6 separate regions of the Homo sapiens genome follow, and regions 1, 3, 4, 5 and 6 are each linked to region 2. The links are contacts of gene promoters, found by promoter capture Hi-C in blood cells and fetal thymus (Javierre and others, 2016). All regions are on one chromosome and are shown on one strand. Each heading gives the region's core, a stretch centred on a gene start or on the middle of the fragment in contact. The rest is flanking DNA. Distances are from core to core; before and after follow the strand shown. Region 1 overlaps ANPEP (alanyl aminopeptidase, membrane). Region 2 holds the start of IDH2 (isocitrate dehydrogenase (NADP(+)) 2). Region 3 holds the start of ANPEP (alanyl aminopeptidase, membrane). Region 4 overlaps ARPIN-AP3S2 (ARPIN-AP3S2 readthrough). Region 5 overlaps WDR93 (WD repeat domain 93). Region 6 overlaps LOC124903550 (a long non-coding RNA gene).

Region 1 (4,384 bases), core at 1,722-4,221, 310 kb before region 2:
TTTTTTTTTGGCGTAATAAAAATGTTCTGGAATTAGACAGTAGTGATGGTTGTACCACATGGTTTTTTTCTGTTTGTTTGTTTGGTTTGGTTTGGTTTTGGTTTTTTGAGACAGGGTCTTGCTCTGTCACCCAGGCTGGAATGCGGTGGCACCACCTCCGCTCACTGCAACCTCTGCCTTCCTGGTTCAAGCGATCCTCTCACCTCAGTCTCCTGAGTAGCTAGGACTACAGGTATGCACCACCATGCCCAGCTTATTTATTTATTTATTTATTTATTTATTTATTTATTTAGAGATGAGATCTTATGATATTGCCCAGGCTGGTCTCAAACTCCTGGGTTCAAGGGATCCTCCTGCGTTGGCCTCCCAAAGTGCTGGGATTACAGGCATGAAGCACCCCACCCACCCTACCTTGTTAGTTTACTGAAAACCACTTAAAATGGTGAGTTTGATGGTCCATGAATTATATATCAATTTTTTTTTTTTGAGACAGAGTCTCACTCTGTCGCCCAAGCTGGAGTGCAGTGGCACAATCTTGGTTCACTGCAACCTCCGCCTCCTGGATTCAGGCAATTATTCTGCCACAGCCTCCCGAGTAGCTGGGACTACAGGCACCCCCCACCACACCCAGCTAATTTTTGTATTTTTAGTAGAGACAGGGTTTCACCATGTTGGCCACGCTGGTCTGGAACTCCCGACCTCAGGTGATCCACCCACCTTAGCCTCCTAAAGTGCTGGGACTACAGGTGTGAGCCACCACGCCCAGCAAATTATATCTCAATTTTTAAAAAAGACAAACTAACTTAATCCAAGTTGACTTTGTCAAGCTTCTAATTCAAGCATATATATCAATTGTAAAAAGACCTTTTATAAACAACTTAGAAAATTTGAATATGCCTTGGGTATATGATAGTAAGAAGATAATCATTTTCCTGGGTTTGCTAAGGACAGTGTGATTATGTTTTAAGAATCCCTTTATTGCTGGGCGCAGTGGCTCACACCTGTAATCTCAGCACTTTGGGAGACCGAGGTGGGTGGATCACTTGAGGTCAGGAGTTCGAGACCAGCCTGGCCAACATGGTGAAACCTCGTCTCTACTAAAAATACAAAAATTAGCCGGGTGTGGGGGCGCATGCCTGTAATCCCAGCTACTCGGGAAGCTGAGGCAGGAGAATTGATTGAACCCCAGAGGCAGAGGTTGCAGTGAGCCGAGATCATACCACTGCACCACTCCAGCCTGCATGACAGAGCGAGACTCAGTCTCAAAAAAAAAAAAAAGCTGGACGCCGTGGCTCACGCCTGTAATCCCAGCACTTTGGGAGGCCGAGGCAGGCAGATCATGAGGTCAGGAGATCGAGACCATGGTGAAACCCCATCTCTACTAAAAATACAAAAAAATTAGCCAGGCGCGGTGGCGGGCACTTGTAGTCCCAGCTACTCAGGAAGCTGAGGCAGGAGAATGACGTGAACCCGGGAGGCGGAGCTTGCAGTGAGCCCAGATCGCACCACTGCACTCCAGCCTGGGTGACAGAGCAAGACTCCATCTCAAAAAAAAAATAAAAAATAAAAAAAATAAAAGAATGCGTTTATTTTTCATATGACTAAATTATTTAGAGGTAAAATTACATGATCAGTGATTTGCTTAAAAATTGCCCGCCCGGAAAAAGTACTGGCAAAATGTTGATAATTGTTGAACCTGGGTAACGGGTACATGGAGGTTCATTATACCACTCTTCCCTTTTGTGCCTATACAAAAATCCCAAGATGAATTTTTTAAATTGAATTATCAACATTTCCAAAGTCTGGCTACTCGGCTTCCTCTGTAAATGAGGAAGGCCTGGCGGCGTGGAGCCTGTGCTCCCTCAGGGCCACGTGGGAGAAGAATGGAGTGCCCCTTTGGCCTGGGAAGGAAGTAGGCAGAGCCCAGGTCTGGGGAATGACTTCTTACCTGCTGCAGCTCATACTCGGTGGAGAATCGTCGTGTCACTGCCTGGATGAGGTTGGAGAAGGAGAACGAGCCACCACCATAACTGCAGGGAGGGAGAGAGGTGAACTGTGAGGGAGGCCGGGAACTAAGGAGGCTCATCCTCACACCTACTGGGTAGGGAGCCATGATTATAGAGGAGATGAAATGACACGCCCTGGGAGACCCCACTAGGATGTGGGGGAGTCACAGCTTGAACACAGGTCTGACTGCCGAGTTCCTCACTCCCCTCTCTTCTGGAGAATACGCCCACACGCCACGTTTTCCTTCCAAATGGGAAAAGGGACGGCCCATACCCCAGCTTGTCTTTCCATTCCTGCCCCACCCTAGCCCCCAGGCTTGGCTGATTTTTGTCCACTTCTGGTTAGTGCCCCCGGCGTGTCTTACCCGCACAGGCCACCCCCCGGGGCCCCAGCCTCGGCGCTCGCTGTCCCTGACACCCATTCCACAGACTCACTCGTTAAAAAGCTTCTTCCAGTTGCTCTGGACAAAGTCCCAGACCAGACCTTGCCCAATGACGTTGTTGGTAATGCTGATGATGGTAGAGGTGGCGTCCTGCTTCCGGATTAAGTCCGGGTTCAGGGTGTAGCTCAGGTACCTAAGAGGGCCAGATGCTGTCTCAGCTACTGCTAATTCAGGTGACTCAGGAGAGAACTTGGACTGTCCCACGCACATCACCTATGCCTGCATCCTCTCAACATCCCCTCGGCCTGCCAGGGGCTGAGGGACCCCTTGGTCCTTCTTCCCTCTATAGATGGAAAACTGAGTCACCTAAGCAGGGTCACAGGGTCACTGGCTAAGCTAGTGTCATGCCTGACATAGAAATATTTGACAATGAATCAATGAAGGAAGGAGTCCTAGCGCCCCAAGCCCTGGCACCAGGTGGGTGGTCACTCCCGTCTTTGACACTGAGGGTGGCCCTTCTTTTCTTTTCTTTTCTTTTCTCTTTTCTTTTCTTTCGAGACGGAGTCTCACTCTGTCGCCCAGGCTGGAGTGCAGTGGAGCGATTTGGGCTTACTGTAACCTTCGCCTGCCAGGTTCAAGTGATTCTCCTGCCTCAGCCTCCCGGGTAGCTGGGATTACAGGCATGTGCCACCATGCCTATTTTTTTTTTTTTTTTGTATTTTTAGTATTTTTAGTAGAGACGGGGTTTCTCCATGTTGGCCAGGCTGGTCTCGAACTCCTGACCTCAGGTGATCCATCCACCTCAGTCTTCCAAAGTGCTGGGATTACAGGTATGAGCCACCACACCCTGCCCAAGGGTGGCTCTTCTTTACTGCATCCAGGTAATGGCATATGAGGCACATGGTGGGAGGTGGGGACCCTCATCCAAGGGCTTGAGGGGGTGCCCAGCTGGATGTTTGAAAAGACCCAGGTCCAGCTACACCAGAGCCTTTGACAGAAGGGAAGACGAGTTGTTGTCAGGTAAAGGCTAAGAGGCCACAGCAGCTAGGAACAGAGGACATGGACCCAGACCTGAGTCCATATCTTGTCTCTATCACTTATTAAAGCTTCCAGTCTGCACCGGTTACTTTGGAAATACTGCCTCCACCTCAACAGGTCTGTGGGGGTCACGTGAAGGATCTGGCGAGGAGTGTGGAGGCCTGCCTGGTTCTCCAGGTGGGGAGAGGGCTCTCGCAGTCCCACCCTGCGCCAAGACTCACCTGTTCAGGATCCACAACTCTTTGCTGCAGGCCAGGGCTGCCCGGAGCTTGTCAGCCTCATTGACCAGTGTGGCATTTCGGAACTGCTCCCAGGCGAAGTCCCACTCCTCCTCCCCGCCCTGGGCGATAGCGTTGCAGTAGACGGTGGACCGCAGGTTGGGGTGGATCCTGGTGTGGGGTAGGGAGGTCAGGTGTGGAACAGCAGCGGGGAGGGTGGGACAGGGTTCTGCTGAGGACGGGGCTGTTGGGGGCAGATGAAGACTGGCAGAGGAGGCGCAGGGGAGACACTCACGGGTTATTATTGGGGTTCTCCATCCACTGCTTGAAAAGGCCAGAGACCATCTCCTCACACTCTGGAACTCCGTTGGAGCAGGCGGTGCTGATGGCATTAACCTCGCTGTACCTGCCCCAGGGGTGACACGCGGTTAGCACACCTGGCGAACTCCAGCCAAGATTCACCTCTTGACACACAACCCCAGGCCGGCACCCTGCCTAAGGCTCTGTGGCCTAACTGGCCCTCTGACCCCCGCTGTATGTGCTTTGTGCCTTGGGCCTGAGGTTCCTTGGTCCCCAAAGCAGCCCTGTGACCCAGAAGGGCAGGAACAGGCTCCAGCCCCAGTTTCAACACCTAGAAACTGTATAACCTCAAGCCAGTGGGGTGAGCTAGAGTTTCAGTTTGGGTCTTTGTATAAAGAGGTCCGATGGGCCCTCAGGCCACATGGAGCCTCAGGGCAGG
Region 2 (4,377 bases), core at 26-2,525:
GCTCCCACAATCCGGTTAACCATTACCTCCTCTGGCCAGGTCAGGGCCAGCGGGCCCCATCCCCTCTTCCTCACTCTCCTGGCTCACTGCAAGGGGCTCCTGGCCAGATTAGGATAGGGGTTTCCATGGCAACAGGCATTAGGCAGGGCCAAGGGACCTACATTGTTCCCTGCCTTTTGTAGCTGTGTTGGGTAGCCAGGGTGAGGGGGCAGGCCGATGCCCACACGCCAAGCAAGGCAGCCTGCGTTGGCAACGGAGGCTCGGGCTAAGTCTTGCTTATTACGACCCGACTACTGTCTTCCCTCCTAAGCAGGGAACTAAGGGTACCCAGAAGCCGTGGGAACGATTCCGCAAAGTGACATTTTGCGCGGGCTGCCAGGTCTCTGCGGCGAGTGAGCCAGGCAGGGAGGGCATGTGCCTGCCAAGGCAGGTCAAGTCAAGGAGAGGCCCCAGGATGGAGCCTCAAGTGCAGCGATGAAGGCGAAGGGGTGGGGGTGGGGGCGGCCAAACAAAAGGGGAAAATTAAAAAGGACGCTCCTCCAGCTGTCGTGTAAAAGGCTCCAAAAATAGCTGACGTGGGCCTGGTATCAGCGCGCGCCTGGCTGAAAAGGAAGGGGAAGTGCATGTCTCCCGCCTCCCAGCCTTTGTCTGAGCAGGGGCCGAGCCACGACCCTCCCTCTCGCCAGGGGAGCGCGCGGGGTGCTCCAGCCCCCCACGGGTGCTCGTCTCGTTCCAGGGGCGCAGGGCGGGCAGGCCACCCTTCGGGTCCGGGACACTCTCAGGACCCCCTCCCGAAATACCTAGGGGCGCGCGGCAGCCCCGAGCCCCCGCCCGCGCAGAGCTGGCCGTCGCCCGGGCCACCAGTTGCCACCGTCCCTCAAGTCCCCACCCCAGCGCCTGGCACGGCCGGGAAGCGCCGGGCGGGGGAGCGCGGAGCGAAGCTGCCCCGCGGCCCTTTGTGCGCCTGACCCCGCCGTCCCCGGGCTGCGGGCTGGCGGGACGTGCTTCCCGGCCCCAGCCTGGGAAGCCGCCACGTCGCAGCTGGGGGCGCGCGCCTGCCTGGACCCTCCGCGCGGCACTCACAGTGGCGCCGCGGCTGCTCTTGCGAGGTGGGGGCTGTCAGGGCCGCCGGCGCCCAGGCCGGCCGCGAGCCTGAGGCTCTGCAGAGCGAGCGCACGACCCGCAGGTAGCCGGCCATCCCAAGCTGGAGAGCGAACGAGCAGGGCGGGAGAGGTCCGAGCGCGCGCCGCTCCTCCCGGCTGCCTGGCCGCGGGCTAACGCTGGGCCTGGCGGGCGCTGGCCGCGCGGGCACCACCGGGGCGGGGCTGCCGGGCCTGCCGCCCCATTGGGCCTTGCCGGGGAGGAGGCGGGGCCAGGGCCGCCGACGCCTCCAGCGTCCCGCGGGAGCCGGGACCCGGCGGCCAGGCCCGGCTGGTGCTTCTCTGGGCGCCGCTGAAAGCCCAGCTCCGCAGGAGCTACAGGCGTGAGACCCACCGGGACCCGCGAGCGGGATCAGGGCTGGGGGATTAGCAGAGCCGCTTGCGAGGCTGACCCTCTCCAGGATGCCCCATGTAAACCTGGATGTCAGTTTCTGACGCTTTAGCTTAAACCCAAAAGCCAATCTGAGCGAACTCTTGCTTCCCTCGCCTGCCGGGCTGAACCCAAAGGCGCATTAGCCCAGTGCGGCTGCTTCATTCTTGAGCTAAGACCGCCGGCGGCGTCTGCGCCTCCGCGAGTCCGCTGTCAGGTCCAGCTGGTGTAGAGAGAGTTGAAATCTCACTTTGGGCCGGGCGCGGTGGCTCACGTCTGTAATCCTAGAACTTTTGGGAGGTCGAGGCAGGCGGATCACTTGAAGTCAGGAGTTCGAGACCAGGCTGGCTAACATAATGAAACCCCTGTCTCTACTAAAAATACAAAAATTGATCGGGCATGGTGGCGCGCGCCTGTAATCCCAGCTACTCAGGAGGCTGAGGCGGGAGAATCACTTGAACCTGAGAGGCAGAGATTGCAGTGAGCTGAGATCATGCCACTGCACTCCAGCCTGGGCAACAGAGTGAGACTCCGTCTCAAAAAAAAAAAAAAAAAACCACGAAAAAAGAAATATGATTGGACCAGAAGGCCAATAACCTGAGTGGGGAAACCCAGCAAGTCCTGTCCGTGTAGATTCTTCTTGACCTTTCTCTGCAGCATTCCTTCCTTCTGAGTACGGGGCAGGACTCTCTCTGGGATGGAGGGGTCTTAGGACCTGCAAGCAAACAAGGTAGGTCAGATAATTTATGGCCAGTTTTTACCCAGAAATGTGTGGGAGAAAGAGTAATATTTTTGGGTTCGATGTCTGGCTTTGGGGGAGAAGGGCTCTGGTTTCTATGACCTGCCTTGAGGAAGAAGGATTCCAGTTTCTATGGCTGGCCTCGGAGGAGAGTGAGGGGCCAAAGACAGGAGGGAGGGAGAGGGTCAGAGAGAGCTGCTCCTGAGGCCTGCATTTTGGGGTGTTGTTTTCTGAGACCCTAGAGTAGTCAAACAGCCACAGTAGAAACAGTTCCATTTTTGCCTGTTTGCATATAAAAGATGGGTTTGTTTGTTTGTTTTAATTAAAAATAGAGATGGGGGGATCTCACTATGTTGCCCAGGCTGGTCTCCAGCTCCTAAGCTTAAATGATCCTCCCGCCTCGGCCTCGCAAAGCACTGGGATTACAGGTGTGAGCCACTGCACCTGGCCACAAAAGACAGTTGTAATTGATTCTGCCACAAACAAAGTTTCTCTCTTCATCTGTTTTCTTAAACTAAGACACCAGCTGAGGGCTGGGTTTTATTTGGAAAAACCTGACCTCTTTCCCTTCTCTGCTTTCCCAGTCACGCTAATTCACTCCAAATAGGAGCAACCTTTCTCTTCTGTGTTCTCAGCCCTCCCCTCCACTACCTCACAGTCAACATTGCCAGGTGGAGCTGGACCAGGAAGGTGACCTTCAACTAGTGACTTCAAAGCTCCCCTCACCAAGTCCTAGCCGGCAGAACTACTACTCTGGCCATGGGATCCAGAAGGCTGAGCCCAAGGGAGGGCTGCTTTTGGGCCCCCCAGAGTCTGAGGCCTCTGTCAAAGGCCTGGTCTTGGGCCAGCTTGTGCCAGAAAGACCCCTTATCCCTTTGACTCTGTTCAGAATTCTGTTGCTCCAAACACAAGTAGAGACCATGGAAGCCTCTGGCATTTGACTTTCCTGCCAACCTGGTATTATCAGGTGCCTGGATCTCAATGTCCACACCTGTAAACTGGAAGACTGGACCCCTGAAGATCCTTCTGGTCCAAACAATCAGACTTACGTATGTCAGCCACCCATACTGCCACCTCTGAAATGGCGGTAATGAAATTGCTGTCCCCCTCCCCCCACCAAGGACTTGCCCCTTTCTCTGCATGTTGGACTCATATCTCAGAGGCCTGGCCAGAGGCAGCACTGTAGGTGTGTTCCAGAGTCTGGTCTTTGCCTGCTGAGGGATCAGAGGGGGAGCACTTGTGTGCCTTGTAAGCACAGCAGCAGCTGGAGGCAATTGAGGCAAAATCTTTAAACGGATTCTAACTACCTGCCTCCCAGGGCCCCAGCTCCACGCCAGCCTTTCCCGTAAATCCTGTTTGGTGAGGCAGCTGATGCCAGCTCCATTTGGCTCGTAGAGGTTACCACACTTGCTCAATGTCACACTGCTGGGAAGCAGTAAAACTCCAGTTCAAATCAACATACCTGGCCCATATTCCATTACTGTTTTTTTGTTTTTTCCGAGACAGGGTCTCACTCTGTTGCCCAGGCTGGAGTGCAATGGTATGATCATGGCTCCCTGAAGCCTCGACCTCCCGGGCTCAAGTGATCCTCCCACCTTAGCCTCCTCAGTAGCTTGGACAACAAGAACATGCAACCATGCCCGGCTAATTTTTTTTCTGTTACTTTTTGAAGGAGAAAGAGGGAGAAACCACAGCCCCTATTTATTGTGCTGGTCTGGAATTCCTGGTGATGGTAACTATTGGCCCTGAAAGCTGCTGCAGAGAAAGATGGTGTTTAAAGGAAAGGGGCTCAGATCCTCCCATCTGGGGTCAGTGGAATTGAAAATTTCCACCCCTCCACATTTTCAATCAAACCCCAATTTGTCATTGAATTTAGGTCACGTGCAAGTTCCCTGTGGAGGCACAAAAATTTGTATCACTCCGTCCCCACCCTCTGGGAGCCAGACACACATGTATACAATCACCATAAACCCAGGCACAAGAGAAAAATGTCTGCTGGGCGTGGTGGCTCACACCTGTAATCCCAGCACTTTGGGAGGTCAAGGCAAACTCCTTGAGCTCAGGAGTTTGAGACCAGCTTGGTCAGCAGAGTGAGACCTTAATCTCTA
Region 3 (4,903 bases), core at 1,623-4,122, 290 kb before region 2:
ACCAAAAAACATGAAGGTTGACAACGATCATGCCAGGGCATAACTAAGTCACAGTCACAGTGTGGAAGACACCCACACTTGTGGGTGGGGAGAGGCTCCTTGGTCTCAGATGTGAAGTGCAAGAGGCTTTCTACTCTAATATGAAGACTCCAGGAGCCTGGGAGGGGCTGTGGCCGGGAGAGCTGAGCACCCGTGGCCGGGTGAGCTGCTGTGTTATCCATGCTCCATCCCCGACCACTGGGTCCTTGGGTAGGCCCCACCCACTCCCACTCAGTGTCCCTGACTGTGAACTATGAGACTGGGAGCTCAGGGACAACCTGGGGCTCATTGTCTGCTCTGAGGGAGCAGTGAGCGAGAAGGGTAGGGACGAGGCTGGGCCTGGGCCAGGGCACACTCTGTCCCCGCAGGCCCCTGGCTTTCTCCCAGGCTTCTGAGGCCTCCGCCCATAGCTGCATCACCCCAGGGTGCTTCCTCTGGGAGCCTTGGACATTGCCCCTCCTGCAAGAACCTCAGAAGGCCCCAATGGGAAGTTGCCTCTCATCAGCCTCTTCAGCCCAATGCAGGGCACACAGGAGGAAGGAGCAGAGGCATTTGTGGGTGGGGGAAGTACACATAGGGTTTGTGTGGGGCCACAGATCCTGCCTGGCAACTCCTGTCTGCCAAATGGGGGGTGATTATCCTGGTGAGACACATGGTAGGTGAAACTGAGCACCTACTATGTGCCCTACCAGGATAATCACCCCCATTTGGCAAATGAGGACACTGAGGCACAGAAAGGTTAAGTGATTTGCCCAAGGCCACACAGCTAGTTAGCAGCAGGTTCCACAGCTTAACTACATATGCCTCCTAAAAATGTCCTCCCATACAGCCCCTCACATCTACTGTGGCCGTGCCAAGGGGAGTTGAAGACCACAGGAGAAGACACGCACCCATTTGGCCAGACCAGGGCTGGGAGCTGGGGGTAGTTCTCAGAAGTAGAACTTGTTAGCCAGGGAGTGCTGGGGGCTGCTTCCAGACACAGGCCTGTGGAGGACCCACATCTTGCCTCCAAGGTGTGACTGGGACCACTGTAGGGCCAGGAGTGACAGGCACCCGGGGTGAAGCCCGGGCTAGGGATAGATGGCTGCCAGCCTATGTGAATAAGGACACCCCAGGGCCTCGGTGTGCGGCTGACACACTGTCCATGCCATGCCTCCAGGGCTGTCCAGGAGCCCCAGCATAGGGTTCCAGATCTCCCACCAGAGCCAGCCCAGGAACTGGACCCAGTTCCAACACCTTGGCTCCTTCCGACATGGGGACCCCCATCTATGTCCTCAGAATGCCTAGCATACAATTCTTACAGCGATGGGGCTGGAGGCCTTAGCTTAAAGGCTGTAGGGGTGTAAGGAGCGCCAGCGTGTAACGAAGGTCTCATTCCCCAGAAGGCTCTGGGGGAAGCACAGGGCAGGCGGCTGGGCTGCCTCAAGACACTGGGCCGGTTTCCCCACCTGTGAAGCGGGAGCAGCGCTGTGGGTGGCCTCCTTGCACTCATAGTGTGGCCTTCGAGGCTAGGGCTCCACAGGAAGGTGGCTGAGAGTGGATGAGGGCCTCATGGGCCCAGCACACCCTCCCACAGGGAGAGGGGAGTCCACCCTCTTCCCTGCCCAGCTCCCCCATACCCACTGGGGCTAGCCAGCCTTCCTGTGGGACAGAGGCTGTCCCCACTTCCTCCTGGTCACCCCTACCCCACACGCCCACCTCCCCTCCACAAAACACATACCCTGAGGGGCCCTCTGGTCCAAGCCTCCCCTTTCACAGGTGAATTAACTGAGGCCCAGTAAGGCCAGGGCGTTTAGAGACTCAGGGATGAAGCCACATCAGACCTCAGGTCTGGCTGAGACCAGGGCTCTGACCACCCCCGAACACGGCCTGGTGGGTTGCAGTCCAGGGGCTGAGGTGGGGGAGGAGTGGGGATCCAGTCACAAAACCCCAGGACATAGCCCACCTGGGCCGTCCCTGCCCACCGCACTGCTGGGGGGGGGGGGTGCGTTCTGGAGTCATTTGGGGAAAGGATCCCATTGGCCCTGTTTAGGGGACCTTTTCCCAGACCAAGAGTGGATTGCAATGGGGCCCTGGATCTGTCTCAGTTGCTCACCAGGGAGGGCGTGGAATAGGCTCCACAACCCCCAAACCTCGGTCCCCATCCATGCCCCGGCATCTTGGCCGGGTTGTAGGAGCGAGGGAGAACGCGACTGTAACGCGGGCGTTGAGCACCTAGAGTTCCCCTTCCTCTTCACTGAGAGCTGCGGCGGAGGCTTTAGACCGAGGAGCGAGATCTAAGGTTAAAGAAAGGGCCTCTGAGCCCAGTGTTGGCCAGAGACCCCACAGGCGGGCCGGGTTCGCCCTTTGCCTTCGGCCGCGCCCCACCCACCAGGGACAGAGTGGCCGCGGCCGAGCCGGGTCCACCCGCCGCAGCTTAGCTCCGCTCCGCCGCCCTCCCCGTCCGTCCTCCCCAGGCTCCCGTCGCCCTCGCCCACCCTGGGGCCCCCTCCCCAGATGGGAGCCCCTCCGACCCCTGCGAGGCCCGCTGGGGACCCACTTGACCGCGAGATCGTAGTGGGAGCTCGGCCAAAAGAATTCTTCGCTTTCCCTGGCCCTCAGTTTACCCATCTGGGAAGAGGGGCGTCGCGGCCGCAGAAGTCCAGCTCCGCACGCGCCAAGCGCTGGGTCTGCAGCTCCCTCGGTTCCCGCGCACCCAACTGCCCCACGACCCCTACCCGCGCCCGCAGCCCCCGCCCTCCCGCCCCACTTGCCTGGGCCGCCGGGCGCTGGAACCTGGACCCTGGACCCTGGCGGGTTCCGAGCTGCGCCGCCGCCGTCCCTGCCCCTCCAGCACTGGACTCCTCCTTTCCCGTCTTTTTAAAGGGAAGTAACCGGACCCGACCACTACTCCACCCGATTCACCCCTAGCGGGCCGCCCGCCCGCAGCTCCGCCCGGGCTCCTCCCCCGTCCGCCCGCGGCTTCCCGGGAGCCCCCCAGGGCTCCTCCGCTCCTCCGACGGCCCGGCCTTCCCCCCGGGGCCTGGGATGCACCAGGGCTCCTGCTGCCCCCGACGGGGTCCCTGTCGCCGCAGCCCGCGGGACCCGCCGGCCACATCTGGACGGCATCTGCCGCGGGGGAGGGGCTCAGAGCCTCGCCCTGAGTGTCCCGCAGGGAGCCTTGTGCATCCGGGGCAGGAAGCCAGCGCATCCCGTGCAGACGGGTGGTGCAGATAACGGACCCGCCACAGCACGCAATTCAACTTTCTTGGTACCTGGGACTCGTAGTTCAGAAGGCGCAGTAGCACGACCTTGCGAAAAAGCACCGGAGTCGGGAACACGCGCTTCTCATTTTTTTCTTTTTCCTTTATTTGTTTTTGAGACAGAGTCTCGCTCTGTCGCTCACGCTGGAGTGCAGTGGCACTTTCTCCGCTCACTGCAACTTCCTCCTCCTGGGTTCAAGCGATTCTCCTGCCTCAGCCTCCCGAGTAGCTGGGACTACAGGTGCACGCCACCACGCCTGGTTAATTTTTGGAGTTTTAGTAGAGACAGGGTTTCACCATGTAAGGCTCGTCTCGAACTCCTGACCTCAAGTGATCCGCCCGCCTTGGCCTCCCAAAGTGCTGAGATTACAGGAGTGAGCCACCACACCTGGCCTGCGCCTCTCATCTTGATCCTGCTTGCAGAGGTTGTGCAGCCACCGGAGCCCCGCCAGGGTGGGGCTCCCTGTCTCTGAGCAGCTTTAATGGGCGGTACCAGATAATATTTGTATTGGTTCCCTGTGGCTGCCGTAACACAAACATAAAACAACACTAATTTACTATCTTACAAGTTTTGTAAAATCAGAAGTCCAAAATGGGTCTCGCTGGACTAAAAGCAAGGGGGTTGAGGGATACAGCTTTCTTGAGGCTGGAAGGGAACCTGTTTCTTTGGCTTTTCTGGCTTCTAGAAGCTGCCCACATTCCTTGGCTGGTGGCCCCATCCATCTTCAAAGCCAGCAGTGGCCCACCAGTCTCTCACAATCTGTCACTCTGACACCAACTGTTCTGCCTCTTGCTTCCACTGGTGAGCATCTTTGTGATTACATCGGGCCTACCCAGATAATCCAGGGTAATCTTTCTATTTTAAATCAATGGATTGGCAACTTGAATTCCACCTGCAACTGTAATTTCCCTTCGTGGGGTAGCATAACATATTCACAGATTCTGGGCATTAGAACCAGGGCATCTTTTGAGGAGGAGGATATGATTATGTCTACCACAATATTCAAGCTGACTTCCAGACTTTCAGATTTATAATCAAATTTAAGCTCTTCCTTATCCATGATTGGAATCCTTGGGACAGTTAAAGCCTTGCACTGCATGGTCCAAATTGATGGCTTTGTGACTGGCTGTGTTTTATTATTTTACTTGCACTTGCTCTTCTTTTGGAAACTTCATGGAGGACCAGGGTACCTCTAGGTAGCAGCCTTGCTTCTCCTTCCTAATTTGCTCTGTACTCTTAAAAACCAGGTCACAAACATATCGGAATATAGAATTGTGTGTAAAGTAAGAGTAAGTAGGCTGTGAGTGAGACCTCAGAGGCTATTTTGTTTTTTTTCTCTCTCCAGTCTCATGCATGTCTGACTCTCTCCACTATCATATCTGGCATAATCTCCTCCATGTCTGACAAGCCAAGGAAAACACTACATCAGGCCAGGAGAGAATCTTCCCCCCGGAGCTCTGCCTCTCCCACCCAGGCTCCGCGGAGATTTTAAGAGGAGTAAAGATCCTGCTGTGGCAGAAGTGCAACCCAGCTTTCTGGAGGGCAGTTTGGGGTTAGGAATGAAGATCACTTTCAGAAATTTAGCCTGAAGAGGCTGGGCGTGGTGGCTCATGCCTGTAAG
Region 4 (4,874 bases), core at 811-3,310, 260 kb before region 2:
CTTGCCAACTAATAATGTGAGATGAAAAGAGCTGGCTTTGGAAGTGTCATGTGGCAACAAGCTGGGAGAAGGTGGGGGGTATCACAGATAAAGAAGAGCTGGTGACAAAACGCAAAGAGTATGCACATCTACAGTGAACCCCCACCTGGCAGGCTCACCCCCACGTGGAGGGAACGGCAAAAGTGGATGAAAACTCTCTCACAATCATTTTTCCCCTATTGCCTTCTTTCCGGATACCAACTCTGCTTCTGCCCTCACCCAGCAAGTCTCCATTTCTTCTCATTTCCAACCCCCTTGCCTCTGACTCACTTACTATTCCTGGAATCTTCCCAGCCTACATTTCTAAAAGAACTATAGCTGCCACCAATAGCTGTGGTCTGGAAAAGCTTCTTCCACAGGACTGCCAGTCCTCACAGAAAGAAGAATTCCTGGTTTCGCAAGATCAAGTTCCGTATACAAGGCAAAGAAGCTCTTTAAGACACTCAGATAATTAAAGAGGTAATTTGTTCTGCTATTTCTGCATGTGAAAGTATACGTCTGTAACCTCTGTGCTCTGGGAAGGCTGAGGAAGGGGACGGCGAGACCTCAGAGGGATAGGACAGAATTTATGTGAACATCTCTATCAAGCCCAGCACCATGTGGGGGTGGACTGGGGTATGTTATTTTCAAGCCTAGCCCAAACTCTACTGTAGTTTTTTATAAAGCTAACTGGAAATAAGGAAATTGGCAACTCTGAGGTCTGAAAGACACCACGAGAAATGGCTGCTGGGAGATCAGACTCTTAGAGCACACAAACTAGGAAACCACACTGGACTAGGGAAGAGGGTTCTGGGTCCCTCCAGGGAACGAGTGGCTTTCAAAGGAGGAATTACAAACCACAAACATGGGCCATAACCCCCAAGCCAGAAGCTGTTTGCCTTCCTCTGCCATCTGGCTTTTCTATTTGCTCTTCTACCCTGAAAATCTGAGATTTCAAACTTGTTACCTGTTTAATTTTCAGGGCTGGCTGACCTTCAAATCCATGAGTTTCAATGGACTCAAGGAAGAAAGAAGATGAGTATCATTTCCCGAGGTTTCACAGCAACACAAACCAACACATGTACACACTCCTGCCTCTGCCCAGGTTTTCTCTACCCAGCCAGGGCTAGAGCACAGCTGCTTACTCACCTCGGATTTCTCCAGCCTGTTTTGAGCCTCAATCTGAGCCACGATTTCATTCATGTTTGTTTCCAACACCATCCCACCCATCACCACCTCCTGGAGGATGTAGTGCACCTAAAAGGGAAGCAAAAATCAGGAGTCAGAATACTCTGTGGTGGTCAGAGTGTAACCCACGAGGTTTCCTTTTCCTGCAGCAGCAGAGTGGTCAGATATGACCTGTCCTGACTCACAACTCAGACACTCAAACCCCCCTGCCCAGTGACACAACGAGGGGTCTCTCCCAGGTCTTGGCACATGGCAACACGAATCTCTCCCCTCAGCAGCGAGGTGGTAGCTATGAGCACAGGCTTCAAAGTCTGACAGCTCTTGTTTAAATTCTGGCTCTGCTACTTGCTAGCTGGGTGGCCCTGGGCAAATGACCTTTAAAGTGCTTCAGCCTCCTTCCAGGATTGCAGTGAGGACTGGATGAGATAAATGTGTGTAAAGCACCTAGCCTGGTGCCCAGGACACACTGGGTTCTAAGTAAGGAATGGTGGCTTTCATTATTAATATTACCATCATCAACACTGACTGTCATTAAGTAGGTCCAGCTATGACAGAATAATCCCTGTCCAAGCAACTGAAATGAATGTCTTCCACCTTCTATAAGGCAGATCCTCCAGCCTGTGCTCCACTGAAGGGACGTGATCAGAGCAAGATAGAGCCCAATTCCTTTGCACCTCTCCTCACCTCATTTCTTACTGCTTAGATTAGAAAGCAGATTCAGCATAAACACCTTTCTAAGCATAAGGGTCACATTTGGGCTTAGGTTCCATCTAGCTAGCAGTCATCTAAACAAAGCTGAATCTCAGTGTACCTAACTGCTGTGATGGGACGGAGGTGACTCAACTACTGTACCCCTTTGTGGTAGGAAAGCTGTCACAGAAAGCCCTGGGTGGGTCAAAGCAGAGATGCCCACTGTGGTTCATAAGGAATGGTACTCCATATTTCAAACCAAATCACATCAAATGGCCCTCAAGGTGCTTTCGGTCAAGTTGGGAAGACAGCAAGTACAACCTTCTATTGTTAACTAAGTGCCAAATGACTGGGATAGTCCTGGGGAAGTCAGAGAAGAAAGGGTACAGTGGCTAGAGAGATCAGAGAGCTTCACAGAGACAGTGGGAGGATGGAAGCTGGGCTCTGACATTAGAGAGGTAGGGGAAAGAATTTCAGGTAGAAGATGTTGGAAGGAGCAATTCAGCTGGTGTATGGGCAGGTATGGGGAGCTCCTGGGTCTGGCTGGGATGGCAACTTTCTTTATGCAGGAGAGAGGCTAAGACAAGGCTGAGAAGGTAATTTGGGTCTGGAGCAGGGCTTCTCAGCCTAGGTACTAGTGACATCTGGGACCAGATAATCCTCTGCTGTGGGGCTGTCCTGTCACTGTGGCCTGTTCTCTAGCATCCCTGGTCTCTACTCCTCCAGCTTGACAATCAAAAATGTCTCCAGAATTGTCATATGTGTTCCAGGGGGCAAATTCACCCCAGCTGAGAACCACTGGTCCAGAGTCTAGAGTCAACCACCAGTTTACTCTGTCAGCAATGCAGAGTCAAGAAGAAAGATGTGTCTGCATATCTGGGCACTGTGCACTTCTGACATCTGAAGTTCTCTGGCATTGGCTCCCTGTATTTTGCCCTCAGTAAGTGCAGGGAACTTCTGATCTTGAGGACAGAGTATAATAAATCAAATGTATTCCCTTGCGTGTGTGCCCACATTGAGCTTTATTAACCACTGTTCTGTCTACACACACGCACACACACACTCTCACGAGGTGTTCTTACATTTTATACAATATGAATTATTCATTAGCTATATGCAAATGAAGATTTAATGGTAAAAGTCTCATATTTAGATAATTTACAAAATGTTAAACAAGACTGGTTTTAAAATTATTCCCTGGGGGAATTCCACTGTTTATACTTCCCCATCAAGAAATAGGCCTCTGAAAACAGTATGGTGGTTCCTCAAAAAGATTAAAAACAGAATTACCATATGGCCCAGCAATTCCACTTTTGGATATACACTCAAAAGAACTGAAAGTAAAGACTTGAAGAGAATGTGTACACCCATGTTCATAGCAGTATTATTCACAACAGCCAAAAGGTGGAAGCAGCCCAAGTGTCCATGAACAGACGACTGGATCAACAAAATGTGCCATAGAAATACAACAGAATATTATTCAGCCTTAAAAAGGAAAAGAATTCTTTTTTTTTTTTTCATCTGAATTGAGATGCTGTAAAAGGGAAGGGAATTCTGAGACACAATGTAACACGGATGAACCTTGAAGATACTATAAGTGAAACAACCCACACACAAAAGGATGAGGACTGTGTGATTCCACTCCTGTGAGGTACCCAGAGTAGTCAAATTCAGAGACAGAAACTGGAACGGGGGCTGCCATGAGGCAGGGGGAAGAGGACAGTGGTGGCTATTGTTTAATGTGTACAGAGGTGCTGTTTTGCAAGATGAAGAGCTCTGGAGACGGATGGTGGTGGCGACTGCACAACAATGTGGATATACTTAATGCCACAGAACTGTAAGCTTAAAAATGGTGAAGACAGGAAACTATATGTTACATATTTTACCACAATTTAACAAAAAAGGAGAGAAATAGTCCTCTATACCTGCACTTTCAGTATTTATTCCTTTTATTTAGCCAATCCCTGTGTGGGTAGAAAGTAGTACTTGTTGAGTATCTATTATGAACCAAGTACTTTATGTAACTTACCTTAATTTTACAACATTCATCTAAGGTAGGTAATATAATCTTCACTTTATTATTATTATTACTATTATTATTTGAGGCTGAGTCTCACTCTGTCACCCAGGCTGGAGTACAGTGGTGTGAACTTGGCTCACTGCAACCTCCGCCTCCTGGGTTCAAGCGATTCTCCCAACTCAGCCTCCTGAGTAGCTGGGATTACAGGCACCCGCCACCATGCCCAGCTAATTTTTATATTTTTAGTAGAGTCGGGGTTTCCTCATGTTGGCCAGGCTGGTCTGGAACTCCTGACCTCAGATGATCCCCCTGCCTTGGCCTCCCAAAGTGCTGAGATTACAGGCGTGAGCCACCACGCCTGGCCTGACTTCACTTTATATATGAAGAAATTGATACATTTTATATATGAGGAAAAGGCAATAAAATGATCCCAATGTCATGTATATTAGCAGCAGAATGGTGCTGATTCCGGAGCTCATGTTCTACCCTTTATATCATACTTCCTCAGAATCCCAAACTATGTCTTCCACTCTATTCATCCCTGACCCCTAGTCCACATGAAATCATTTAAGACTTGTCTTTGGTGTGTCAATATCTTGTATTAATTCTTCCATGCTTTATCTCCAAGGCCTAGAACAACGCTCAGAGTAGGCATGCTAAATGAATGAAAGGCTTTCCATATATCTAAGTAGCATATTCCTTGGGCTTTAGGGACTTCGAAGATAGACAACAGTGTGGTGGTGGGGGCTTTCTGGAGAAGGTATAGTAAAAGGCCTAACACATGATGTCGTGGAGACTAGTGGCTGGTTAACAGAAAAAGTCAGTTAAAACTTCTTATTTAACACTGCATCATAAAGTCAGCATTTTCAAATGCTGTTCAAAATATGTTCCAAATGCAAAAAGAAGAAATAAAAATGCAAACTCCATTTTTGTTATAACTACAGGATATCCAAAATTC
Region 5 (4,751 bases), core at 1,422-3,921, 390 kb before region 2:
GCCTTGATTTTTAACCTTTAAATATTTAGATACATGGTATATTGGCCTCTATTTTATACTCTTGTCCAAGCCCCCTCCAATGTCAGGTATTTGAGGAACATATGCATTTTATTTTGTTTTTTTTTTGAGAAGGAGTCTTGCTCTGTCACCCAGGCTGGAGTGCAGTGGCATGATCTCGGCTCACTGTAACCTCTGCTTCCCAGGTTCAAGCGATTCTCCCACCTCAGCCTGCCAAGTAGCTGGGATTACAGGTACCTACAAGCATGCCCGGCTAATTTTTATATTTTTAGTAGAGACGGGGTTTCACCATGTTGGCCAGGCTGGTCTCGAACTCCTGAGCTCAGGTGATCCGCCCGCCTCGGCCTCTGAAAGTGCTAGGATTACAGGCATGAGCCACCACGCCTGGCGAAGGATATGCATTGTATAATGCTTTGTGTATTCAAGGAAACTTGTGCACCATCTGTATTGGTTTCCTGAGCCTGTCATAACAAAGTACCACAAACTGGGCAGCTTAAAACAATAGATATTTATTCCCTCAGAGTCCTAGAGGCCAGAAGTGTGAAATTAAGGTGACCAGAAGATTACTTTTTAAGAAAAAAATTTAGCCAGGATCCCATACCATGGGAGAACAACCTTTCCTAGGTTAACATATATTTGCTATAGAAGCTGAGCATGTTTCTTTGACAAGATAAAGTCCCACAGCCAACCCATGGGTTGTTATCTCCTCAAATATTGGTCAGAAGAATTCTTTAGGTACATCTTTCCCAATTCTAACCCTTCCTCAGACACACTTCTCTCAGTTGCTGATTCTGTATTTGCTGCCCTCCTCCCCAGACAGGTAAAACTGAAGGCAAAATGTCAGTGGATGTGATCACTTCAGCAGCACATATACTAAAACTGGAACGATACAGAGACGATTAGCATGGCCCCTCTGCAAGGATGACACACAAATTCATGAAGCATTTCTTTTTTTTTTTGAGATGGAGTTTCACTCTGTTGCCCAGGCTGGAGTGTAACGGCCTGATCTCGGCTCACTGCAACCTCCACCCACTGGGTTCAAGTGATTCTCCCACCTCAGCCTCCCGAGTAGCTGGGATTACAGGTGTACACATCACCATGCCCGGCTAATTTTTGTATTTTTAGTAGAAATGGGGTTTCACCATGTTGGCCAGGCTGAGAACTCCTGACTGCAGGTGTTCCACCCACCTCAGCCCCACAAAGTGCTGAGATTACAGGCGTGAGCCGCCATGCCCGGCCCCATATTTTTTTTAATGTCAATGGAATTTACCATTTGCAACAAAGAAAATGTGGGGGCTGGGCAGAACAATTTGGTTAAAAAGCTGTTGCATGAGTGCTGTTAGTGTGAGAAGCCCCTGTTTCTCTTAGATAGGTGGTGGTGGGTTGAGGGGATAACTCTCCATGGGAAAGTTATGTGGGGCATGAGGACTTGCAATAACCATTGCAGAACTACTTCTCCTTCAGTATGTCAAAGTTGCCTGGTATGGAGGTGGCTGGTCTCTTTGCCAGCAGTTCTAAGAAGAAGACAGGCCATTTCTCAGAGGAAACTTGTGGCTCTCTTACAGTTGCTCAATGGTTCTCTGGTTTCCCAATGCAGGAGCCGGAGATATTTGGCTGGATGTGTATAAATTGCCCAAGGAGACTTGGCTCAAGAAACTAGAGCACCCCCAACTCACTTCAAATCCAAAGAAAAAAGTCAGACAGCCGCAACTGGTAGGAAATATCTCTGCTTTCAGCTGATATGTTTCTCCCTACCCCTGACCCACATCTAGCCCAAGTCCTTGGAAACTTATGGTGAATGAGGCCTCTGGGCTATAAGAGAGGACAACAGGAATATTGGCCCCTGTCTCCCAAGTCAATTTCCTTTGGTTAAAATAAGATATTAAAAAGTAGAGGTGTCTTCAGTAGTGGGAATCGCAGTATCTCTAGTCTGGGAGTTGCCTCTCCACTGAGACCACTCCCAGGCATTTCTCTGGAAGGAGGGTCTTTTGTCCTGACTCCTGCTTCACTGGTAATCTTTTTTTCCCTCCTGGCTGAAATAATCTTTTCATGCCTCAAATTCCATTAAATTTTTCCAGACTATGGTATAAAGAGGTTGTTCTCAATATACAGAAATATATATATATTTTCTATTATCCTTAGAAAGTAGAAACTCTACCATTTCAGTTTATTTATATATGATGACTGGGCCTTGTGCTGTTTTTTTGTTTTTGTTTTTGTTTTTTGAGTCTCGCTCTGTTGCCCAGGCTGGAATGCAGTGGTGCGATCTCTGCTCACTGCAACCTCTGCCTCCCGGGTTCAAGCAATTCTCTTGCCTCAGCCTCCTGAGTAGCTGGGACTACAGGTGCACGCTGCCATGCCAGGCTAATTTTTTTGTATTTTTAGTAGAGACGGGGTTTCACTGTGTTAGCCAGGATGGTCTCAATCTCCTGACCTCGTGATGTGCCCGCCTCGGCCTCCCAAAGTGCTGGGATTACAGGCATGAGCCATCGCACCCGGCCTGTGCTATGTTTTTAAGATATAGTTGCTCAGTAAATATTAAGACTTAATTTGCTTATTTATACAGTGTATGCTTATTATTTTTACTTTTAAACCACCAACATTAATATATTAATATTAACTGAGCATCCCTTTAAAATACATTGTATTAGGTGCTAAATAAATTAGTGAAATTATTAATATAGGAGACCAAGATTGAGAGTTACATTCACTGCTGAGCTCAAGTGGCTTTGAATAAATGCCTTTATGGCCAGTGAATATCTTCATAATGGAGTGTAGTCCTATGTCCCTGGGAAAGTTACTAGCCCAGAGATATTCCTCCTCTAAGCTATTACAGAATGTTATTATTTGTATGTATTTTTTGACACTTCTCACATACTGCCTAGGTTTGTAGTTATCCTGTTATACATGAAAATCCTCTTGTCTTCAATGGATAATAAATTTCTAGATTGTTAAGATCATACCTTCTGCTTTTTATCAACAAATTCCATAGTATCATACTTGGTACTCAAAAAGATATATTTTTGTTTGGACTAATTTGTTATCCAAATAGGAAAAGCACCTTGAATGGGGTGGTTTCTCACCATAATTCACTTCTTTTTCATACACTGAGAAGCAGCCAATGAATGCCAGTTACAGTGGTAGTTCTTTTACTACGAATTATATTTAGAGTTACTTAAATGTAATTCTCAACATCACCAATATGTTTTGCCAATCAGAAATATTTGCCTCAATTTGGATTCTTGTAATGGTGTTCTGACTGATCTCCTCAACTCTATTCATTCAGATTTCCTCTTGTTATTAACTATTTCCTGTTTCCCCACCTACCTTTTAAGATCCTGAAAAATAGGGATCGTGTGTTGAAGTTCTGCAGGCCAGAGGCCCACACAAATACTGGCCCTCCACATCTGTTGCATGAATTCACTCACAAGAGTAATTGAGGGGAAGAGAGAGCATGCCAGAAGATTAAAGGGGGTGGTAAACATACATCAAACCTATTGTGAATTAATTTCTCATTTTTCTTCTCAGAACTCCCTTGGTCCCATTTCTGCAGATCCTTTAGAAATGGTAAGAAACTTTAAAGAAAATCTCCAGAGAGACTTAAGTTTGTATTTTAGAGATTTTTTAAAAATTATTATTTTTCTTTTCTTTTCTTTTTCTTTCTTTTTTTTTTTTTTTTTTTTTTGAGACAGAGTTTCATTCTTGTTGCTCTTGTTGCTCAGGCTGGAGTGCAATGGAGCGATCTTGGCTCATCGCAACTTCTGCCCCCCAGGTTCAAGTGATTCTCCTGCCTCAGCCTCCTGAGTAACTAGGATTATAGGCATGCACTACCACGCCCGGCTAATATTGTATTTTTAGTAGAGACAGGGTTTTCTCCATGTTGGTCAGGCTGGTCTTCAACTCCCGACCTCAGGTGATCTGCCTGCCTTGGCCTCCCAAAGTGCTGGGATTATAGGCGTGAGTCACCACACTGGGCCCAAGATTTTGATTTTTACTTGAAATTTACCCTAAATGTCAAATATGCTAATGAAATGTTCCACCTGGGCACTATTTTCAATTCTCAGTGACTTAATCTTGTGCCTCATATCCATTGAAGATGACCTCCCGTCCCTGAGGACAGTTGACCCAAGTCATTTGGCCAGACGTGGGTTTACCTGAAGTTAAGGGAGCTTAAATTTCAGGGCCCCTCACTTGGGCCCCTGGAAGGGGCCCTAGCAATGTGTTCATATGGTTATATATTTTTGTAAAATTAGCAAAGGTAACATATTGTAACCATAATCACTTAATTCCACTACCTCTTCACTCTAGCTTTCCTCTGTCACAATTTCCTCCATATTAGATGGAATTACAGTGGCCATGGGCATTTTGTGTTCATAGTTCTGTCTTCTTTTTCTTAAAAGAGGGTCCTATGAATCCTGGATTTGCCTCTACCAAAATAACAGCCCAATTCACCAAGCCGAGTAACTTGGGGGTTTTGTGTTTGTTTTGGAATACCTTAGAGAACAGAGCAGTTTCCCTGGAGCTTCCTGGCTCTTCCTCTGAGACCAGGAACATACCATGTCTTCAGAAAGCATGGCTCTTGGAGGACTCAGGCGTGTCAGTAGAGTAGTGGTGAACTTCTGAAGTGGAAGTATCTCGCTAGAGCCCCTTCTTTTTTCCCTTTCAAAGTTACATTAGGCCAGGTGGGGTGGCTCATGTCTGTAATCCCAACACTTTGGGAGCCTAAGGCAGGA
Region 6 (4,473 bases), core at 1,182-3,681, 330 kb before region 2:
ATGCCTGTAATCCCAGCACTTTGGGAGGCCAAGGCAGGCAGATTGCATGAGGTCAGGAGTTCGAGTCCAGCCTGGCCAACATGGTGAAACCCTGTCTCTACTAAAAATACAAAAATTAGCCGGGCACGGTGGCACATGCCTGTAGTCCCAGCTACTTGGAAGGCTGAGGCACAAGAATCGCTTGAACCTGGGAGGCGGAGGTTATAGTGAGCTGAGATCACACCACTGTACTCCAGCCTGGACAAAACAGAGAGAGTGTCTCAAAAAATAAAAAAATAAACAAAAATAAAGGTGTGAGTCAGAAACATCAATAGAAGCCAGGCGTGGTGGCTCACACCTGTAAACCTAGCACTTTGGGAGGCCGAGGCAGGTGGATCACCTGAGGTCAGGAGTTCAAAACCAGCCTGGCCAACATGGTGAAACCCTGTCTCTACTAAAAATACAAAAAATTAGCCAGGTGTGGTGGCAGGCATCTGTAATCCCACGTATTTGGGAAGCTGAGGCAGGAGAAATCGCTTGAACCTAGGAGGCGGAGGTTGCAGTGCGCTGAGATCATGCCATTGCACTCCAGCCTGGGCAACAAGAGCGAAACTTCATCTCAAAAAAAATAAATAAATAATAAAGAAACACCAATAGAAACAGCACCTGCTCTATCTGAAATGCAGCACCTAGATCAAGACATATCTATGAAGCCTGATGAATTTTGTTTATAACTGTTGAATGGATACATGCAAGTTCCCTGATAGACAGTATGTCAAGAGCTTTATAGTGTTGTGTGGCCTCGGACCAATAAATGATGTACCTACACTACATGTGCCATTATTTCAACCCAAAAAGTCTAGGGGTGAATGTTTTACAAGTTGTCCCTTATTTCCCCTTAGGAAATAGTTGTTTTTTGTTGTTGTTTTTTTTAAATTTTGGTTTAAACCCTTTTAAGCCATGAAATGTTCCATAACTAACTGCTTCTCTCCAAAGAAAGCCTGTTTGAAATCTATCCCACCTTCTTTTCATGTTATGGACCAATTAAAATTTTCTCTTCTTTATTCATAGCAGCTAGAATAAACTAAACGATAGTTGTTTGCCCAGAGTTATTCAACACCAAGTGTTACTTCATCATAACGTTAGAGCAGTGACTTGGGCATATTTTCTCCGATATATTTCAAAATAAATTCTGAGGAGAAAAAGTGACATAATTTCATTATTGAAGGTGTATCCGTACCTTCTGCCATTTTACCTTTTTTCCAAAGTTAAAATTATTTACATGGGCTGCGTACAGTGACTCATACCTGTAATCCCAGCACTTTGGGAGGCCGAGGCGAATGGATTGCTTGAGCCCAGCAGTATGAGACCTGCCTAGGCAACATGGTGAAACTCTGTCTCTACAAAAAGTACAAATTTTAGCCGGAGTGATGGTGCACATCTGTAGTCCCAGCTACTCCGGAGGCTGAGGTGGGAAGATTACCTGAGCCCGGGAGGTGGTGGCTGCAGTGAGCGGTGACTGCCCCACTGCACTCCAGCCTGGGTGACAGAGTGAAACCCTGTCTAAAGAAAAAAATTATTTAAAGAGATAAACATTTAAAACATTTAGATCAACTATAACCAAGGTTTTGGTTAAATCTGTATTCGCAGGCAGTACTTTTTTTTTTTTTTTTTTTTTGAGACAGGGTGTTGCTCTGTGGCCAGACTGGAGCACAGTGGTACGATCATAGCTCACTGCAACCTCAAACTCCTGGGTTCAGGGGATCCTCCTGCCTCAGCCTCCCAAGTAGCTGGGACTACAGGGCCCACCCCACCATGCCTGGCTAATTTTTTTTTTTCTTAGATGCGGGGTCTGACTATGTTGCCCAGGCTGGTCTTGAACTCCTGGGCTCAAGCCAACCTCTCACCTCAGCCTTCCAAAGTGCTGGGATTATCCCCACTAAAAATTTGATCCATTATTTTTTTAAAGGGTGAGTCAGCAAAATATGTCCTGACATGGAATGCTCTGAAACATGCTGTTGAATGAAAAAAAAAAAAAAGAAAAAGAAAAAGAAAAGAAGAAAAACAAATTACAAGCTGACATTTACACATAACAATGTACATAATGTAACTGGAGGGTTACTGTGTGTTTGCTAAGGATACACGTTTATGTTAACCCACTGGCCAGGTCTGGAACTACACACACAGCCTAATAACAGCTGTTACCTTTTGGGGGTTTATGGGGTTGGTTAAAGAGACTCCAACTTTATCTGTAATGTTTCCATTTCTCACAGTGAAAGGTAGTAGTTACATAATTTGTGTAATTAAAAGTTAATTTTTGAAAATAGCCACGCCCTCCCTCAAAAAAAAAGAAAGAAACAAAAAAAAAGATTAGCCAGTCATAGTGGTATGCGCCTGTAGTCCCAGCTACTTGAGAGGCTGAGGCAGGAGGATCACTTGAACACAGTTTTAGGGTACAGTGAGCCAAGATTGCATCACTGCACTCCAGCCTGGGCAACAGAGTGAGACCCTGTCTCTAAAATTAAAATAAATGAAGCCTGGGCACAGTGGCTCACGCCTGTAATAACAGCATTTTGGGAGGCTGAGGCAGGCGATCACTTGAGGCCAGGAGTTCGAGACCAGCCTAGCCAACATGGCGAAACCCCATCTCTACTAAAAATACAAAAATTAGCCAGGCATGGTGGCGTGCACCTGTGGTCCCAGCTACTCAGGAGGCTGAAGCAGGAGGATTCCTTGAGCCTGGGAGGCGGAGGTTGCAGTGAGCTGTCACTGCACTCCAACCTGGGCGACAGACCCTGTCTCAAAAATAAAACAAATAATAAAATAAAATAAAATAAAATAAAATCAGCCACAAAAATATTACAAGGCAGCTGGGCCTGGTGGCTCATGCCTGTAATCCCAGCACTTTGGGAGGCTGAGGAGGGCAAATCACTTGAGCCCAGGAGTTCAAGACCAGCCTGGGTAAAACCCAACTCCACAAAAAATGATAATAATGATTAAATAATTACGAAGCCATTTGCTACTTCAGGCTGCTGCAGGTTAATCTCTTCTTGAACACCATTGTCATGTTGATCTTTAGTTAGTTATTAGCTAATGATTTTTAAAATTGTATCACCCTTCCGCTCAAAAGTCCCTATGGCTCCCAAAACCAACTCCTTAACCTGGCCCCAGCCCAGGTGTGCTCTGGCCTTCCACATCACCACCCCAGTGCCCTGCTCCTAAGGCATCTTGGAAGGTCCCAAGGCCAGGTCTTTGCTTATGCAGTTCCCATCCGGAAAGCACGGCACCTGCCTCTCTCCCTACTCAAATCCTACGCATGGTTCAAGGCCCAGCTATGACTTCTTCACCTCTGTGGCCAGAACCCTAATGTCCCTGGTCTTCTTTTGACTCTTAGCCTCAGGACTCAGCCCTTTCCCCAAGACCACACAGGACATTGACAATCTCCTTTAAACTGTAATTGTTGCTGAGAATATCATTTACTTTATAAATTTTACTATCTCAACTATCCCTTACACAATCCCATGTAGATACTATCATTATTCCTGTTTTACTGAGCAGAAGCTCAAGCTCAAACAGGTTAAGGGCTCTGCCTAAGGGCATACAGCTACTGTCATACAATGGCCTGTTCACTTTTCTTTCCCACAAGACTGAAATCTCATTAGAGCAGAGACCATGACTAGCTCATTCACCCTGTGTGCTCGACATTTACTGGTTGCTAAATATGAATTCGGCCAGGCGCAGTGGCTGACGCCTATAATCCCAGCACTTTGGGAGGCCAAGGCGGGTGGATCACTGGAGGTCAGGAGTTTAAGACCAGCCTGGCTAACATGGCAAAAACCAGTCTCTACTAAAAATACAACAATTAGCCAGACGTGATGGTGCATACCTGTAGTCCCACCTACTTGAGAGGCTGAGGCAGAAGAATCACTTGAACCCAGGAGGCAGAGGTTGCGGTGAGCTGAGATGGTGCCACTGCACTCCAGCCTGGACGATAGACCAAGTCTGTTTCAAAAACAAAAAAAAGAGAATAAATAAATAAATATGAATTAAATGAATAAAGTCCATTAGTGCCTTGAAATCTAAGTACTTTCCTTTTATTTTATTTATTTATTTATTTATTTACTTATTTATTTATTTTTGAGACGGAGTCTCGCACTCGCCCAGGCTGGAGTGCAGTGGCACGATCTCAGCTCACTGCAACCTCCGCCTCCCGGGTTCAAGCGATTCTCCTGCCTCAGCCTCCCGAGTAGCTGGGATTACAGGTGCCTGCCACCACACTCGGCTGGTTTTTGTATTTTTAGTAGAGACAGGGTTTCAGCATGTTGGCCAGGCTGGTCTCGAACTTATGACCTCAGGTGATCCATCCACCTCGGCCTCCCAAAGTGCTGGGATTACAGGCATCAGCCACCATGCCTGGCCAGTACCTTCTTTATAAAACGATCATGGCAAACCTTCAGCTCACTTGCCAGGGCCTAAGTGCTTTACAGGGATCGC

Evidence for each region. The method cuts DNA at HindIII sites, captures the fragments that hold promoters and counts their contacts. A CHiCAGO score of 5 or more calls a contact.
Region 1: a contact is called between a fragment that was not itself captured here and the fragment with the promoter of IDH2 in region 2, in 1 of 17 cell types (neutrophils). The highest score is 8.5, in neutrophils.
Region 3: the fragment with the promoter of ANPEP here is called in contact with the fragment with the promoter of IDH2 in region 2 in 2 of 17 cell types (neutrophils and M0 macrophages); the score reaches 5.9 in neutrophils.
Region 4: a fragment that was not itself captured here is called in contact with the fragment with the promoter of IDH2 in region 2 in 1 of 17 cell types (monocytes); the score reaches 6.3 in monocytes.
Region 5: a fragment that was not itself captured here is called in contact with the fragment with the promoter of IDH2 in region 2 in 1 of 17 cell types (monocytes); the score reaches 5.2 in monocytes.
Region 6: a contact is called between a fragment that was not itself captured here and the fragment with the promoter of IDH2 in region 2, in 2 of 17 cell types (M0 macrophages and neutrophils). The highest score is 6.8, in M0 macrophages.

The regions. Positions count from the first base shown.
Region 1 is chr15:89,788,512-89,792,895 of GRCh38, forward strand. It overlaps ANPEP (alanyl aminopeptidase, membrane), which reads right to left. Exons shown (of 21, transcript NM_001150.3): 17 at 3,941-4,051; 18 at 3,649-3,816; 19 at 2,442-2,582; 20 at 1,949-2,030. Among named protein-coding and RNA genes, the nearest start is that of MESP2, 14 kb to the left of the region's middle. RefSeq lists an enhancer at 3,776-4,276. The HindIII fragment of the contact is 1,043 bases long and covers 2,451-3,493 here.
Region 2 is chr15:90,101,193-90,105,569 of GRCh38, forward strand. IDH2 (isocitrate dehydrogenase (NADP(+)) 2) reads right to left here and starts at 1,276. Exons shown (of 11, transcript NM_002168.4): 1 at 1,084-1,276. The coding sequence starts at 1,198. It overlaps IDH2-DT (IDH2 divergent transcript), which reads left to right and starts at 940. Exons shown (of 3, transcript NR_149130.1): 1 at 940-1,186; 2 at 2,188-2,260. RefSeq lists enhancers at 1-557, 558-1,412 and silencers at 57-146, 637-706, 1,027-1,486. The HindIII fragment of the contact is 3,688 bases long and covers 1-2,648 here.
Region 3 is chr15:89,811,980-89,816,882 of GRCh38, forward strand. ANPEP (alanyl aminopeptidase, membrane) reads right to left here and starts at 2,873. Exons shown (of 21, transcript NM_001150.3): 1 at 2,793-2,873. RefSeq lists an enhancer at 2,442-2,941, promoters at 2,809-3,963, 2,809-3,297 and cis regulatory regions at 2,912-2,917, 3,169-3,297, 3,205-3,208, 3,207-3,236, 3,254-3,256. The HindIII fragment of the contact is 11,363 bases long and covers 1-4,903 here.
Region 4 is chr15:89,836,448-89,841,321 of GRCh38, forward strand. ARPIN-AP3S2 (ARPIN-AP3S2 readthrough) reads right to left here. Exons shown (of 10, transcript NM_001199058.2): 9 at 1,168-1,275. AP3S2 (adaptor related protein complex 3 subunit sigma 2) reads right to left here. Exons shown (of 6, transcript NM_005829.5): 5 at 1,168-1,275. It overlaps LOC124903552 (a long non-coding RNA gene), which reads left to right. Exons shown (of 2, transcript XR_007064754.1): 1 at 1-498; 2 at 1,001-2,897. Among named protein-coding and RNA genes, the nearest start is that of MIR5094, 12 kb to the right of the region's middle. RefSeq lists an enhancer at 398-1,597. The HindIII fragment of the contact is 3,352 bases long and covers 385-3,736 here.
Region 5 is chr15:89,713,365-89,718,115 of GRCh38, forward strand. WDR93 (WD repeat domain 93) reads left to right here. Exons shown (of 17, transcript NM_020212.2): 6 at 1,616-1,731; 7 at 3,547-3,585. It also overlaps the pseudogene RNU6-132P. Among named protein-coding and RNA genes, the nearest start is that of WDR93, 25 kb to the left of the region's middle. The HindIII fragment of the contact is 6,791 bases long and covers 1-4,751 here.
Region 6 is chr15:89,771,071-89,775,543 of GRCh38, forward strand. LOC124903550 (a long non-coding RNA gene) reads right to left here. Exons shown (of 2, transcript XR_007064751.1): 2 at 1,024-3,981. Among named protein-coding and RNA genes, the nearest start is that of MESP2, 3.0 kb to the right of the region's middle. The HindIII fragment of the contact is 5,176 bases long and covers 1-4,473 here.